Linked DNA regions of Homo sapiens: region 2 is linked to region 1. Evidence: promoter capture Hi-C in 16 types of primary human blood cells and fetal thymus (Javierre and others, 2016). All regions are on one chromosome and are shown on one strand. The core of a region is centred on a gene start or on the middle of the fragment in contact, and the rest is flanking DNA. Distances in the headings are between cores, read along the strand shown.

Evidence for each region. The method cuts DNA at HindIII sites, captures the fragments that hold promoters and counts their contacts. A CHiCAGO score of 5 or more calls a contact.
Region 2: a contact is called between a fragment that was not itself captured here and the fragment with the promoter of NOTO in region 1, in 1 of 17 cell types (M2 macrophages). The highest score is 5.6, in M2 macrophages.

Annotation. Positions count from the first base shown.
Region 1 is chr2:73,198,381-73,206,181 of GRCh38, forward strand. NOTO (notochord homeobox) reads left to right here and starts at 4,194. Exons shown (of 3, transcript NM_001134462.2): 1 at 4,194-4,668. The coding sequence starts at 4,287. RefSeq lists an enhancer at 5,037-5,588. The HindIII fragment of the contact is 10,291 bases long and covers 1,607-7,801 here.
Region 2 is chr2:72,765,726-72,773,526 of GRCh38, forward strand. All of the region lies in intron 1 of EXOC6B (exocyst complex component 6B), which reads right to left. Among named protein-coding and RNA genes, the nearest start is that of EXOC6B, 56 kb to the right of the region's middle. RefSeq lists enhancers at 6,159-6,660, 6,661-7,160. The HindIII fragment of the contact is 3,917 bases long and covers 2,882-6,798 here.

The DNA.
Region 1 (7,801 bases), core at 2,944-5,443:
TGGATTTCCATTCCCTAAAACCAATCTGACTACAGCCATTGCTGAGTGCCCAACCTGCCAACAGCAGAGACCAACACTGAGCCCCCAATATGAAAACCAACTAGCCACCTAGTGCCAGGGTAATCACATAGGGGCATTACTTTGTTCTTACTGGAATATCCATTTACTGTGACATAGATTTGCTTTCTCTGCCCACAATGCTTCTGCCAAAATCAACATCTCTGAACTTATAGAATGCTTTGGCATTCCATATAGCATTGCTTCTGACAAAAGAATTATTTCACAGCAAGTAAAGAACAGCAATGGGCTCAGGCTCATGGTATTCACTGGTCTTACCATTACCCTGAAGCAGCTGGCTTGAAAGAACAGTAGGATGACCTTTTGAAGACTTAATTATGGCACTAGCTGGATAGTAACATGTTGCAGGGCATGGGTAATGTCCTTCAGATGCAAGATGTGCTCTAAACCGGCAACCAACATATGGTGCTGGGAGAAATCCCAAACCAGGATTTGTGGGTCAGAGGGTAGAAATGAGAACAGATCTCCTCAATATAACACATAGTGTTTCTCTAGCAAAATTTTTGCTTCCTATCTCGGTAACTTTGTGCTCTGCTGATCTAGAGATACTAGAGTTCCCAAGAGTGAACTATTTCCACATGAGACACAGCAGTGGTTTCACTGAACTGGCAGTTAAGACTGTCGCTGGCTACTTGGGCTTCTCTCACCAGTGAATCAATAGGCACTGAAGAGTATTATCAGACTCTCTGGGTGACTGATCCTGACTGTCAGGGGGATAATGGGAACAACATGGTATTTCCATATCCTGTGATTAAAATCAATAGCAAAACTACAACTAAATAAAGGAAGGACTGATAATGGTCCAGACCAGGAACAAGTGGGCACTGAATTTTCACAAAGTATAAAGATCTGTGTAACCAGCATCCAGATGAAGAAATAGAACACTGGCCGGGCACGGTGGCTCACATCTGTAATCCCAGCACTTTGGGAGGCTGAGGCGGGTGGATCACCCAAGGTCAGGAGTTTGAGACCAGCCAGCCTGACCAACATGGTGAAACCCTGTCTCTATTAAAAATACAAAATTTGCTCGGCATGGTGGCACATGCCTGTAATCCCAGCTACTTGGGAGGCTGAGGCAGGAGAATCGTTTGAACTGGGAGGCAGAGGTTGCAATGAGCCAAGATCATGCTACTGCACTCCAGTCTGGGCAACAATAGTGAAATTCAATCTCAAAAAAAAAGAAAATAAATAGAACACTGCTACCACCACAGAAGTTCCCGTCATGCCCTTTGCCACTCATTAACCACCCCCAAGCATTCTCCTGACTTCTAGTAGCATAGATAAGTTTGCCTTGTTTTTTTATTTTTTTATTTTTTTGAGACAAGAGTCTCACTCTGTCACCCAGGCTGGAGTGCAGTGGCGCAACTTTATTCTACTGTTGGTAGACATTCTGGTAGTTTCTGATTTGGGGCTATTGCAAATAATGCTGCTGTGAACATTCTGAAACATGTCTCTTGTTAAACACATATGTATATTTGTGTTGGGTATACACTATACCTAGGATAGGAACTGCTGGATCAGAGGGTTAAGCTTAAGTAAATACTGCTTATCCATTTTTCGAAAGTGTTTCTACCAATTTATATGCCCACACTCAGTGGATAAGAGTTCCAGATGCTTCATATTATCATCAACCCTCGGTATTTTCTTTTTCTTTTTCTTTTTCTTTTTCTTTTTTTTTTTTTTTTTGAGACAGAGTTTTGCTCTTGTTGCCCAGGCTGGAGTGCAATGGCTCACTACAACCTCCGCCTCCCAGGCTCAAGCGATTCTCCTGACTCAGCCTCCCAGGTAGCTGGGATTATAGGTGTGCACCACCACACCTGGCTAATTTTGTATTTTTAGTAGAGATGGGGTTTCACGATGTTGGTCAGGCTGGTCTCGAACTCCTGACCTCAAGTGATCCACCCGCCTCAGCCTCACACCTGCCTTGGCCTCCTAAAGTGCTGGGATTTACAGGTGTGAGCCACCGTGCCCAGCCAGCCCTTGGTATTTTCCATCTTCTGGTGCGTGTATAGTGGATCACGATGTGATTTGAATTTGCATTTCCCTGATGACTCACAGAGTTCAGTATGTTTCATACTTTTTTTTTTTTTGAGACAGAGTCTCGCTCTTTCGCCCAGGCTGGAGTGCAGTGGTGCAGTCTTGGCTCACTGCAACCTCCGCCTCCCAGGTTCAAGCAATTCTCCTGCCTCAGCCTCCGAGTAGCTGAGATTACAGGCACCCACCACAACACCCAGCTAGTTTTTGTATTTTTAGTAGAGATGGGGTTTCACCATGTTAGCCAGGCTGGTCTCAAACTCCTGACCTCAAGTGATCTGCCCGCCTTGGCCTCCCAAAGTGCTGGGATTACAGGCATGGGCCACCGCGCCCAGCCACATATGGTTTTAAGCTATTCAGATATTTCCTTTTATAAAGTGCCTAGTTCATGTACTAACCCATCTCAGTGGTCTTTTTAAAGTCTGTTGTAGGGCTGGGTGCGGTGGCTTACGCCTGTAATCCCAGCACTTTGGGAGGCCAAGGCGGGTGGATCACCTGAGGTCAGGAGTTCAAGACCAGCCTGGACAACATGGTGAAACCCCATCTCTACTAAAAATACAAAAAATTAGCTGGGCATGGTGGCGGGTGCCTGTAATCCCAGCTACTCAGGAGGCTGGGGCAGGAGAATCGCTTGAACCCAGGAGGCAGAGGTTGCAGTGAGCCGAGTGCCATTGCACTCCAGCCTGGGCAACAAGAGTGAAACTCCATCTCTAAATAAATAAATAAATGAATAAAAATAAAGTCTGTTATTCGTTTGGCTTTATTTTTGGTATACTTAACAAAAATTAGCTGGGTGTGGTGGCACATGCCTGTAATCCCAGCTACTGAAGCAGGAAAATCGCTGGAACCTGGGAGGCAAAGGTTGCAGTGAGCCAAGATTGTGCCACTGCACTCTAGCCTGGGCAACTCCATCTCAGAAAAAAAAAAAAAAAGGACTACTAAAAGAATGAAAAGGCAGGCCACAGAGTGACAGAGGTTATCTGCTTCTATGTATATTACAACGAAGGACTTGATTCCAAATTATCTATACATAAAACTCTTACAATAAGAAAAACATAGTGACCCAATACAAAAATAAGCAAACCAGTTGAACAGGCACTTCACACAAAAGAGGATATCCAAGTGGCTGATAAGCATGTAAAAAGATGCTCACAATGAACGGTCTTCAGGGAAATAAATGCAAATTAAAACCACATACCTAGGGGATTTGAAACAAGGCAGTTCTGTTAACCTCTCTTGCTGTATTTACTAATATGTAAATTGGAGATATTAATGCTTATGCTCAGGAATTTACAGTCTGAAGAAGGAATAAATGACACAACAGAAAACTGATAATTATGTATGGAAACACAGAATTATATACTAAAAGTCCAAGGTTAGAGACATAGTGGCCATATCTTTTACCCCTAAATCAACTCAAATCAAATCAAATCAAATCCTGAGCTCAAGCGATCCTCCCGCCTCGGCCTCCCACACAAGTACTGGGATGCCAGGCATGAGCCACTGCACCTGGCCAAAAAAAATATTAAAGAAAGAACGAAATTGGTAATCACAGCGCATCTCAAGGCAGGGAAACTAAAGGGCTGAGGCCAGATGGAAAATGTACTTATCACTGTGCTTATAAATAAAATATTTACATTTTAAAACAAACAAACAAAAAGTCCGCGCGGTCCTAGGTGAATCTGGCCGAGGCTTCTGCGTCAAGGACGGCGCGGGTCAGCTGAGGCCAAGACCGCAGGCACTGCCCTACCGCTCTCCAGATCACAGCTCCGCCTCTGCAAGGCCCCGGGGAAACGGGCATCCCTTCTTCAGTGAGCAAAGGAGAAAGACGGAGCCCGGTGGCTGGGTGTTTCGCCCAGGATCACCAGCGAGCTCAGAGTCCTCCCCACGACCGCCCCAGGGTGGGCATTTTTAAAAGCGGAGGAAGGGAGGGAACACACTCTTTGGTGCTGTGCCCACCTTGCCTCGCACAGAGCGGGCGCTCACAGGCTTTGGGGGCCCCGCCCGGACCGCAGTGGGGAGAGGCCGCCCCATGCCCCGCCCCGCCAAATTTAAGAGCCTTCGCCGAGCGCCAGGAGGTTCCCAGACAACCGGTCTTGCTCGCTGCCTTTTGCAGAATCTTCTCACTTCTCCCGAGCTCCCTTCCTTGCGTCCGTCCGGGCAACGGCCGCGTCATGCCTAGCCCCAGGCCGCGAGGCAGCCCGCCACCCGCTCCCTCGGGCTCTCGGGTCCGACCTCCGCGCTCTGGCCGCTCTCCGGCGCCCAGGTCCCCTACTGGCCCGAACACGCCCCGCGCTCCCGGACGCTTCGAGTCCCCTTTCTCGGTCGAGGCCATCCTGGCGAGGCCCGACCCCTGCGCGCCGGCGGCCTCCCAGCCGTCGGGCTCCGCCTGCGTCCACCCGGCCTTCTGGACCGCTGCTTCCCTGTGCGCCACCGGGGGTCTGCCCTGGGCTTGCCCGACATCGTGGCTGCCCGCCTACCTGAGCGTAGGTTTTTACCCTGTGCCAGGGCCGCGCGTGGCTCCCGTCTGCGGCCTGCTGGGCTTCGGCGTCACAGGTACTGCGGTCCCGGCGCCCGCACGCGGGGGACTGGGCGGGGGCTGGAGAGCCTAGGTCGCCACTGCCGGCGCCCCAGTGCAGGAGAGGGCACTGAGTGTGAGAATCACACACGGCTGGAGTGGGAAGGGGCTCTGCCACCGTTTACCTTGCAGTTGAAGCCGAGGACCGCGACAGTCTTGCTGAAAAAGACCCCGGCGCGAGGCTTCCCCCGCACGCTGCTGAGGTGGGAGAGGGTGGGTGTGAGGGCGGCGCAGCGCCTGAATGCGGTGGGCAGGAGGCCAGCGCTGGGGCTGCAAGGGGACCCAGCCCTGCTCCCGGTCTCCGCGTCCCTTGACTCCCTCGCACACCCCGGGGTAGCGCTTAGTGACAGAGACGCTTCCCAAAGCGGCTCTCGACCCGAACCAATGGCCCTGTTTTTTTTTTTTACGGGGTAGGGGGAAGTGGACGCTCCGGGCGGTGCTGTTGAGCGAGGAGCTGTTAGGAGCTGGTCAAGGCTCACACCCCACTACCGCCTCCACTGCTCACGTCTGTGAACTTGAGCTACACACTTCGCTCTGAGCCTGCGTGCATGCAATGCTCTTAAGTAGTGCTTAAGGGCCAGGCACTTAAATCTCATGAGAAAGTAATTGTAAGGTTGGGCGCGGTGGCTCACGCCTGTAATTTCAGCACTTTGGAAGACCGAGGCGGGTGGATCACCTGAAGTCAGGAGTTCAAGGCCAGCCTGGCCAACATGGTGAAACCACATCTTTACTTAAAAGACAAAAAATTGGCCGGGCGCGGTGGCTCACGCCTGTAATCCCAGCACTTTGGGAGGCCGAGACGGGCGGATCACGAGGTCAGGAGATCGAGACCATCCTGGCTAACACGGTGAAACCCCGTCTCTACTAAAAATACAAAAATTAGCCGGGCATGGTGGCGCGTGCCTGTAGTCCCAGCTACACAGGAGGCTGAGGCAGGAGAATGGCGTGAACCCGGGAGGCGGAGCTTGCAGTGAGTCGAGATCGCGCCACTGCACTCCAGCCTGGGCGACAGAGCGAAACTCCGTCTCAAAAAAAAAAAAAAAAAAAAAGACAAAAAATTAGGAGGGCGTGGTGGCGCGCGCTTGTAATCCCAGCTACTCAGGAGGCTAAAGCAGGAGAATCACTTGAACCCGGGAGGTTGAGGTTGCATTAAGCCGAGATTGCGCCACTGCACTCTAGCCTGGGCAACAGAGTGAGACTCCGTCTCAAACAAACAAATCAACAAAAAAAAGTAACTATAGAGGGAACTTTGCCTTCTAGCATTAAACATCCACCTACACGTGCTTTTGCCATTTTTGGTTGCCAGGTTCATGTTTCCCCATGTCCCCACGAAGAAAACAGGAGCAAAGTTAGTCCAAGCCTTATCAACCCATACAAAGATAGTTGTAACACAGTCTTGCCGGGTTCCTACTCCGTGGCACCCACCCCAATCCTGCATTTCCTCACCCCATTTCAGCAGTGCATTAACCCTTGGACTCGCAGCCCCATCTAAATTCAATACCACTGGATCTGGGAGCTGTGCCCATCACTCCCAGTCACCTTTCTCTGAGCTCTTCACACACCTGAGGTCTGAATTACAGTTTACTACTTCATGTTACAGTTGCCTCATTTTCAAGTTAGTTGTTTTCTTTTGTTCTGTTTTGTTTTGTTTTGAGACGGAGTCTCACTCTGTCTCCCAGGCTGGAGTGCAGTGGCGCTATCTCTGCTCACTACAACCTCCTCCTTCCGGTCTCAAGTGATTCTCCTGCCTTAGCCTCTGGAGTGGCTGGAATTACAAGCCCCAGCACCATGCCCGGCTAATTTTTTTTATTTTTTTATTTTTTTTTTTTGAGGCGGAGTCTTGCTCTGTCCTTAGGCTGGAGTGCAGTGGTGCAATCTCGGCTCACTGCAAGCTCCGCCTCCCGGGTTCACGCCATTCTCCTGCCTCAGCCTCCCGAGTAGCTGGTACTGCAGGCACATGCCGCCACACCTGGCTAATTTTTTGTATTTTTAGTAGAGACGGGGTTTCACCATGTTAGCCAGGATGGTCTTGATCTCCTGACCTCGTGATGTATTTCTTTTTCTGTGAACTACTGTTCTTGTATTTTGCCCATATGTATAGTTGGTTATTTAAAACAATCTATTTGTAGATGCTCTTTTCTATTGAGGAAATTAGCCCTGGCTGGGTGCAGTGGCTCACCCCTGTAACTCCCTCACTTTGGGAGGCCAAGGCGGGTGGACTACTTCAGCTCAGGAGTTGAGACCAGCCTGGGCAACATGGCAAAACCCCGTCTCTACTAAAAACACAAAAATTAGCTGGGCATGGTGGTGCGCACCTTGGCGGGGGCTGAAGTGGGAGGATTGCTTGTGCCTGGGAGGCAGAGGTTGCAGTGAGCCGAGGTCAAGCCACTGAACTCCAGCCTGGGCAACAGAACAAGACACTGTCTCAAAAAATTAAAAAAGAAATTAGCCCTTTAACTGTAATGAACTACAAATGTTTTTCTGTGTATTGGCCTTTGACTTTGATTATGGCGGTATTCTTTTGTTACATAGAAAAAATTTTAATTTTTATGTTTGATGTGTTTTTACAAATCCTTTTTTTTTTCTTTTTTGAGACAGGTTCTCTGTCACTCATGCTGGAGTGCAGTGGTGCGATCACGGCTCACTGCAGCCTCAATGTTCCAGGCTTAAGCACTCCTCCTTAGCTTCCTGAGTAGCAGGGACCACAGGCATGCGCTACCATACTCAACTAATTTAAAACATTTTTTTTTGTAGAGATGGAATCTCACAATGCCTGTCTCAGCCTCCCGAGTAGCAGGGACCACAGGCATGCGCTACCATACTCGACTAATTTAAAACATTTATTTTGTAGAGATGGAATCTCACAATGTTACCCAGGCTGATCTTGAACTCCTGGGCTCAAGTGATCCTCCTGCCTCAGCCTCCCAAACTGCTGGGATTACAGGCATGAGCCACTGTGCCTGGCCCCACATCTTATATGATACTTGGAAAGAACTTCCTCACTGTGAAGTCATAAAATAACTTCCCCATTTTTTTCTAAATTTTTGTGGGTTTACCTTTTTACATTTAAATATTTCCTCCATTTAGATTTTTTTTAGTGCAAGGTATTGG
Region 2 (7,801 bases), core at 3,590-6,089, 430 kb before region 1:
AGGGAACAGAACACTGGAGAAGAGGGGAATAGTAAGAATGGGTCTGCCAATATGCTTCAGTCACTTTTTCCCCCTCAAGGTAAGTACCAAATCTCCATTCAAGAGGCTGAAGTTCCCGGGAAAGGGAACAAGCAGAAAGTCAAGACCAAAAGGCAGGAAAATCAGCTTTTGACAGTTTTAGAGAATCCCGGTACCTTAAATTAGAGGCATAAGAGGTTAGAATCCTGAAGAGGAAAGATGGGAAGAATACATAGCACTGTTATTATTTTCTCAACACATTTGCTGAATTCTTAAGCTATACAAAGAGAGAGGTTAAGATAAGCAAAAAGACTCAGAGAAGCCAACAGAATGTTAGGTAGTATTGAGGTATAAAGGAAAGAAAAGAATTAAGGATCTACCAAGGGAAGGGCTCCTAGTCATCACTCCAGGCTCTTTGGAATGTCTGGAGGACAATAGCATTAAGGCAGTAATGAGCCACACCCTAACTAAAGCTGAACCCTAGATTTAGCCAGCTCAGTCGTTGACTGGATTAAATATTGCCATACCATCTGCCTTACCAAAAGTGGGAGCAGAGGGGAGGGACCTTCACTTAAGGAAGAAAACACTATCCAAAACCTCCACAATTTTTTTAATGTCTATTCAGTCCAAAATTACCAAGTGTGCCAAGAGAAGATCACATGACTAAAAATCACATGACTAAAAATCAAGATTCACAGATGATCTAGATATTGAACTTATCAGATAAGAACTTTAAAAATGGCTATGATTAATACCACAAGAAAAAAGGAAAAGAACAAAACACATGAGAAGATGGAGAATTTCACTACAGCCTTACGATTTGTTTTTTTATTATAAAACTGGAGAAAACCCAGAACTGGGTTTTTAAAATTCCGAACTCCATAGATGGTTTACCAGCAAATAAGTCAATTGAAAAAATCCACATTGAGGTTGGGCACAGTGGCTCACACCTGTAATCCCAGCACTTTGGGAGGATGAGGCAAGTGGATCATTTGAGGTTAGGAGGTGGAGATCAGCCTGGCCAACATGGTGAAACTCCATCTCTATCAAAAATAGAAAAATCAGCCGGGCGTAGTGGTGCGCGTCTGTAATCCCAGCTACTCGGGAGGCTGAGGCACAAAAATCGCTTGAAACCGGGAGGCAGAGGTTGCAATGAGCCGAGATCACCACTGCCCTCCAGCTTGGGTGACAGAGTGAGACCCTGTCTCAAAAGAAAAAAAAAAAAAAAAGGAAAAAAAAAATCCACATTGAAGCCCAAAGAGAACAAGGAAAGGACAGGATGTAAAATACAGAAGAATGTAAGAAAAATGAAACATGGGACACCATCAAAAGCCCTCAGCCAGCAGTTCTCAAAATTTTTTGCCTGGCACTATTTTTATGCTCTCAAAAAATATTGGGTTTCCTGGCCGAGTGCGGGGGCTCACGCCTGTAATCCCTGCACTTTGGAAGGCCGAGGCGGGTGTATCACCTGAGGTTAGGAGTTCGAGACAAGACTAGGCAACATGGTGAAACCCCGTCTCTACTAAAAATACAAAAAATTAGCAGGGTGTAGTGCCGGGCGCCTGTAATCCTAGCAACTGGAGAGGCTGAGGCAGGAGAATCGCTTGAAACCGGGAGGCGGAGGTTGCAGTAAACCAAGATCGCGCCATTTCACTCCAACCTGGGCAAAAGAGCAAAACTCGGTCTCAAATATATATTATAATATATATTTCCCTTGGGTTTCCCAAGAACTTTTGTGTATGTGTTATGTTTGTTGACATTAGCCACATTAACAATTGGAACTGGGCCAGGCACAGTGGCTCACGCTTGCAATCCCAACACTTTGGGAGGCGAGGCCGGCGGATTGCTTGAGGCTAAGGAGTTTGAGACCAACCTGGGAAACACGGCAAAACCCCATCTCTACAAAAAATACCAAAAAAGTTAGCTAGGCATGGTGGCATGCACCTGTGGTCCCAGCTACTCAGGAGGCTGAGGTGGGAGTATCACCTAAGCCTGGGAGGTGGAGGTTGCAGTGAGCAGAGATTAGACCACTGCACTCCAGCCTGGGAGACACAGAGACCTTGTTAAAAAAAAAAAAAAAAAAAAAAAAAGACCAAGTCCGGTGGCTCACGCTTATAATTCCAGAACTTTGGGAGGCCGAGGCAGGCGGATCGCCTGAGGTCAGGAGTTCAAGACCAGCCTGGACAATAATGGCGAAACCCCGTCTCCACTAAAAATATAAAAATTAGAGGAGAGTAATGTCATGGGCCTGTAATCCCAGCTACTCGGAAGGCTGAGGCAGGAGAATCACATGAACCCGGGAGGCAGAGGTTACAGTGAGTTGAGATCATGCCACTGCACTCCAGATTCCAGCCTGGGGGCCAGAGTGAGACTCCGTTAAAAAAAAAAAAAAAAAGAAAGAAAGAAAGAAAGAAATTGAAACAGAAGAAAAAAATTACATAAAAGAACATACAAGTATAAATAACATTCACCACTGAAACAATGATATTTTCACATCATGCAGCCTCTAAGAAACTCAATTCTATTCCCCTAGGAGAATGCAAGCTTTTTTTTTTTTTTTTTTTCGAGACAGAGTTTGGCTCTTGTTGCCCAGGCTGGAGTGCAATGGTGCGATCTCGGCTCACTGCAACCTCCGCCTACCGGGTTCAAGCCATTCTCTTGCCGCAGCCTCCCGAGTAGCTGGGATTACAGGCATGCGCTACCACCCCCGGCTAATTTTGTATTTTCTTTCTCCCCGGCTAATTTTGTATTTTGTTTCTCCATGTTGGTCAGGCTGGTCTCAAACTCCAGACCTCAGGTGATCCCCCCGCCTTGGCCTCCCAAAGTGCTGGGATTAGAGGCGTGAGACACTGTGCCCGGCCTAAGCTTTTTTTTTTTTTTTTTAAGTAAATAACATCTAACTGATATTATGAAAATATTTTTAAATCTGTAACTCTCCTGAAAGAAATTTTATCATTGTATAATTGTGCAGAAGCAATACTTAAAGACATCATAGCCAAGTATATCTAAAAACTTATGAAAGATATCAGTCCATAGTTTCAAGCCCTATAAACCCAAAGCATGATGAATGTAAAGAAAACTATACTTGGCCAGCCGTGGTAGTTCACACCTGTAATCCCAGCACCTTAGGAGGCTGAGGCAAGAATATTGCTTGAAGCCAGGAGGTCAAGACCAGCCTGGGCAACAAAGCTAAACCCTGTCTCTACAAAAAAAAATTAGCCAGGCACAGTGGCATGTGCCTATAGTCCCAGCTACTTGGGATTAGACAAGTTCTGGAGATAGGTGGCAGTTTTGGCTACAGAAAAATGTGAATATACTTAATGCCACTGAACTGTACACTTAAAAATGGTTAAAATGGTAAAGTATATGTTATGTATATTTTACTGCAATTTTAAAATAAGGTGAAATACAGACATTATTCATACAAACAAAATAAATGAGTCCTTCACTAAAAGAAATGCTAAAGGGAGTTCTGCATACAAAAGGAAAAGTGACCTCAGAATGAAGCACAGAGATGGAGGAGGAAATGAAGAATCAAACAAAAGAGTAAACATACATGAATGGTGACTCTACGAAATAATAAGGATAATGTTGTGTGGGAACAAAATTACATGTAAAATTAAAATTCATGACAACAGTGTAAGATGTAGGAAAGGATAAATGAAAAAGTGTTACATATTCCTAGCAGTGTCAAGGAAGTGATAAAAATATTAATTTATATTATACTCTGAGTCAAGGATACATGCTGAAATTCTTTGAGTAATGTCTAATAACTAAAAAAGGAAGGGCCAGGCCCAGTGGCTCACACCTGTAATCCCAGCACTTTGGGAGGCCAAGGCGGGCAGATCACCTGAGGTCAGGAATTCGAGACCAGCCTGGCCAACATGGCAAAACTCTGTCTCTACTAAAAATACAAAAATTAGCCGGGTGTGGTGACACGTGCCTGTAATCCCAGCTACTCGAGAGGCTGAGACAGGAGAATTGCTTGAACTCAGGAGGTGGAGGTTGCAGTGAGCCGAGATCGTGCCACTGCACTCCAGCCTGGGCGACAGAGCAAGACTCCATCTCAAAAATAAAATAAAATAAAATAGAAAGAAGAAGAGTCAATAGACAGCCAAAAATAATAAGAATCAAGAATAAGCACTTAGGGAAAAAGAAAAACCAGCAAGTATCAGACTTCTCCACAGCAACATTGAACACCAGAAGACAAGATACTCAAGGAAACAAAACATGAGCCAAGAACTTTAATTTCAACCAAGCTAGCCTTTAAATATAAAGTCTATAGAGCTAAAATTTGAATATACAATAACTCAAAAATTGTTGTTCACATAAGTCCTTCTTAAGGCAACTACTAGAGGAGGAACACAAACCCAACTAGATGACAGGGAAAACTTCAATAAAAAAGAATGTCAATGAAGACTGAATATATTTAACTGCAACTCTAAGACAAAAACAAGGTCAGATTAAAAGTGATCAAGTATGATACATAAAAATAGTACATAAAAATTATACAACTAAGAAAAAAAAGAGAGAAGATAGAAAGTAGAATAAACTAGTCAACTATCTTATACCAGTAACTGTGAGCCAAAGCTAGGCAAATCAACTACAGGTCTACAATCCCTAATCGAAAATCCTTGTAGCAAAATGTTTCATAATACCAAATTCTGTACATTTAAAAAAAATACAGCTCATCTGTCACATATTATGTAACATCCCAGTAAGATCTTAAGCATTCCATAATCAAACACATTCATATTTCAGCAGTAAAATATAGGAATATTCACAAAAGTGGTAAATATAAAGATTATTAATATATTAAGTCAATTCACATCAGGTTTTCTTGCCAAATGAATTAAGGCAGATTTTGACAACAAATAGTTTTTAGAGCCTTTAGGATTTGGGGATTACAAATGAGAGATTATGGGCCAAATCAAGTATGCTTGACTACAAAGTAAAGCACTAAGATAATACTATTCCCTGATATTTAATGCTAAGAGGAAAGAATAACAGAAGAGTACACAAGTTAAGTTTCATTGTTGCCCTTGGGTGAGAAATCAGTAAATATTACCTTCAGAGAGAGACAGAGAGAACTGAGGATGCAATACAAAGGAACCACAAGAACAAAAATACAATTTTTTAAAAATTCAAAGAAAAAAAGGAAGCCATTAGATATGGCTTCATGGTAGTGTCTTCCCCCTCGCCCCCAGAAAAATTATTTGACTTGACACTAAGTTGTTTTTAAATAATGATTATAGTGCTCTTCATTTCCAACTTACTACACTTGGAAGAAACAATTGCTGATGAGCATAAAGTCACTAGGGGGCAGCAGAGCATAAAGAGTATCCTCTGAAAAGTGGTGACAACTACAAAGTTATTACATAACCAGAAGTGTCTTCAACTGCTGAAAACATTTCATACTCATCACAAGCACAATAAAACACTCGCCAATTAATTTGTAAAAATTGCTTCTAAGATATTCATTATATTCTTTATAATTGTTGTAATTTTTATTTTGAAATAATTTCACATTGCACAGAACTCTTGTATAGCCTTTATGCAGAGTTCACTAATTTTTGCCATATTTGTTTTATCATTCTCTCCCTACATATATATGCATGCTTATTTTTCTAAACCATTTGTAAGTAGGCTTCATATATCATGCCTGTAAAACTATAGTCTGTACCTCCTCTCTCTTACATAATGATAGTACCATTATGAAATTCAAGAAATTTACATTGATACAATTATATCTAACCCACAGTCCAAATTCCAATTTTGAAGATTATCCCAATAATGCTCTTTAGAGCATTTTCATTTCCTACTGGAAAGTATCCAGTCTAAGATCATGAATTACATTTTGTGGTCATGTCTCTTCAGTTTCTTTTTATCTAAACAAGCAGCCAAATTTATGGACAAAAGACTACTTTACATTATTAAAAATTACTGAGAGCCTGGATGTGGTAGCTCACATCTGTAATCTCAACATTTTGTGAGGCCAAGGTGGAAGGATCGCTTCAGGCCAGGAATTCAAGCCCAGCCTGGGCAACATGGTGAGACCATATCTCTAAAAAAGAAAGAAAAGAGGAAAAATAAAAATTACTGAGTACCCTAAAGAGCTTTTGCTTATATGAATTATATATATATTAGTATGTGCTATTTTAGATATTAAAACTGAGGAGCGATGTCAGCAAGATGGCAGAATAGGAGTTTCCAACACACATCCCTTCACAGAAACATCAGTTTGAACAAACATCCAAGTACAAAAATATATTCAAAAGAACTAAGGAATCCAGGTAAGAGATCACAGCACCTAGGTAGAATGCAGAAATAAGAAAATATACATTAAAGGGGGTATGAAAGACGGCTTCACATTATCCATGATTCCCTTCCCCCAAGCTCACAAGAGAGACCCTCGCTGGAGGAAAACGAGAATGATATGAGCACCCTACTTCACTGGGGACCCCAGCCCCAGGCCTCCCCAGTGAATTTTGGTGCCAGGCCAGCCGCCATGTACCTAAGCTCCAGGCCAAATCCAACACAAGGACAGCCAGTGACCTAAGGCTCCAGGCCTGCCCCTGCAGGACCAGGCTTAAGGCAAGCTCCAGTGCCAGGATGGCCCCCAAAGCCCCAGGCTTCAGGCCTGCCCAATAGAACCTGGTGCCAGGCAAGTCCCCACAGAAACAGGTTCTAGGCCCAGCCACATGGTACCAGGCACCAGGCTCACCTCCATGGAAAGAGACGCCAAGACTGCCCCATTGCCAGTTAGTCATTGTGGATCCAAGCTTCAGGCCTGCTCCTGCAGACCCCATTGCCAGCCCAACCCAGTAGATCCTTTTACCAGGCTGATCCCCATGACCCCAGAATCCAGGCCCACACACCCAGGCAACAGGACTGATCCTATAAACCCAGGTGCTAGGAATGCCTACCTGCTGACCCAGGGACCAGGCCAGCCTACCCAAGGACTTCAGAAGAAAGCCAACCTATGCACTCGACCAATCAGCCTGTTCAGAGATTCTGAGTAGGCTGACTGGGTGATGGGCTTTCCCTGCCAAAGCCAGCCTGTAAAGACTGGAAGAGGTACCTACATCTTCAAATGCACAACTACCAAACCAAAGCCAGAAGGATCACAAATAAACAGGAAAACCATAATCCCCCCACCCAAGGAACAAAATAAAGCTCCAGTAGCCAGCCCTAAAGAAATGAAGATCTACGAACTGTCTGAAAAAGATTTCAAAATAATCATCCAAAAGAAATGTAGAGAGCTACAAAAGAACCACAGAGAACTATAAAAGAACATGTACAACATGGTAACTATAGTTAATAACATTATTATATTGTATAATTTAAATTTGCTAAGACAGTAGACCTTAGATTTTCTTTTTTTTTTTTTTTTTTTTTTGTGAGACAGGGTCTCACTCTGTTGCCCAGGCTGGAGTGCAGTGGTGCAATCATGACTCACTGCAGCCTCAACCTCCCAGGCTCAGGTGATCCTCCCATGTCAGCCTCTCAAGTAGCTGGGACCACAAGCATAAGCCACCATGCCCAGCTAATTTTTTTCACATTTGTTGTAAAGATGGGATTTCACCATGTTGCTCAGGTTGGTCAGGAACTCCTGGGCTCAAGCAATCCACCTGCCTCAGCCTCCCAAGGTGTTGGGATTACAGGTATGAGCCACCATACCGGGTAGATCTTAAGTTTTCTCACCAAAAAAAAAAAAAAAGGCAACTATGTGAGTTGATGAATATGTTAATTAGCACAATTTTAATAATCATTTCACAATGTG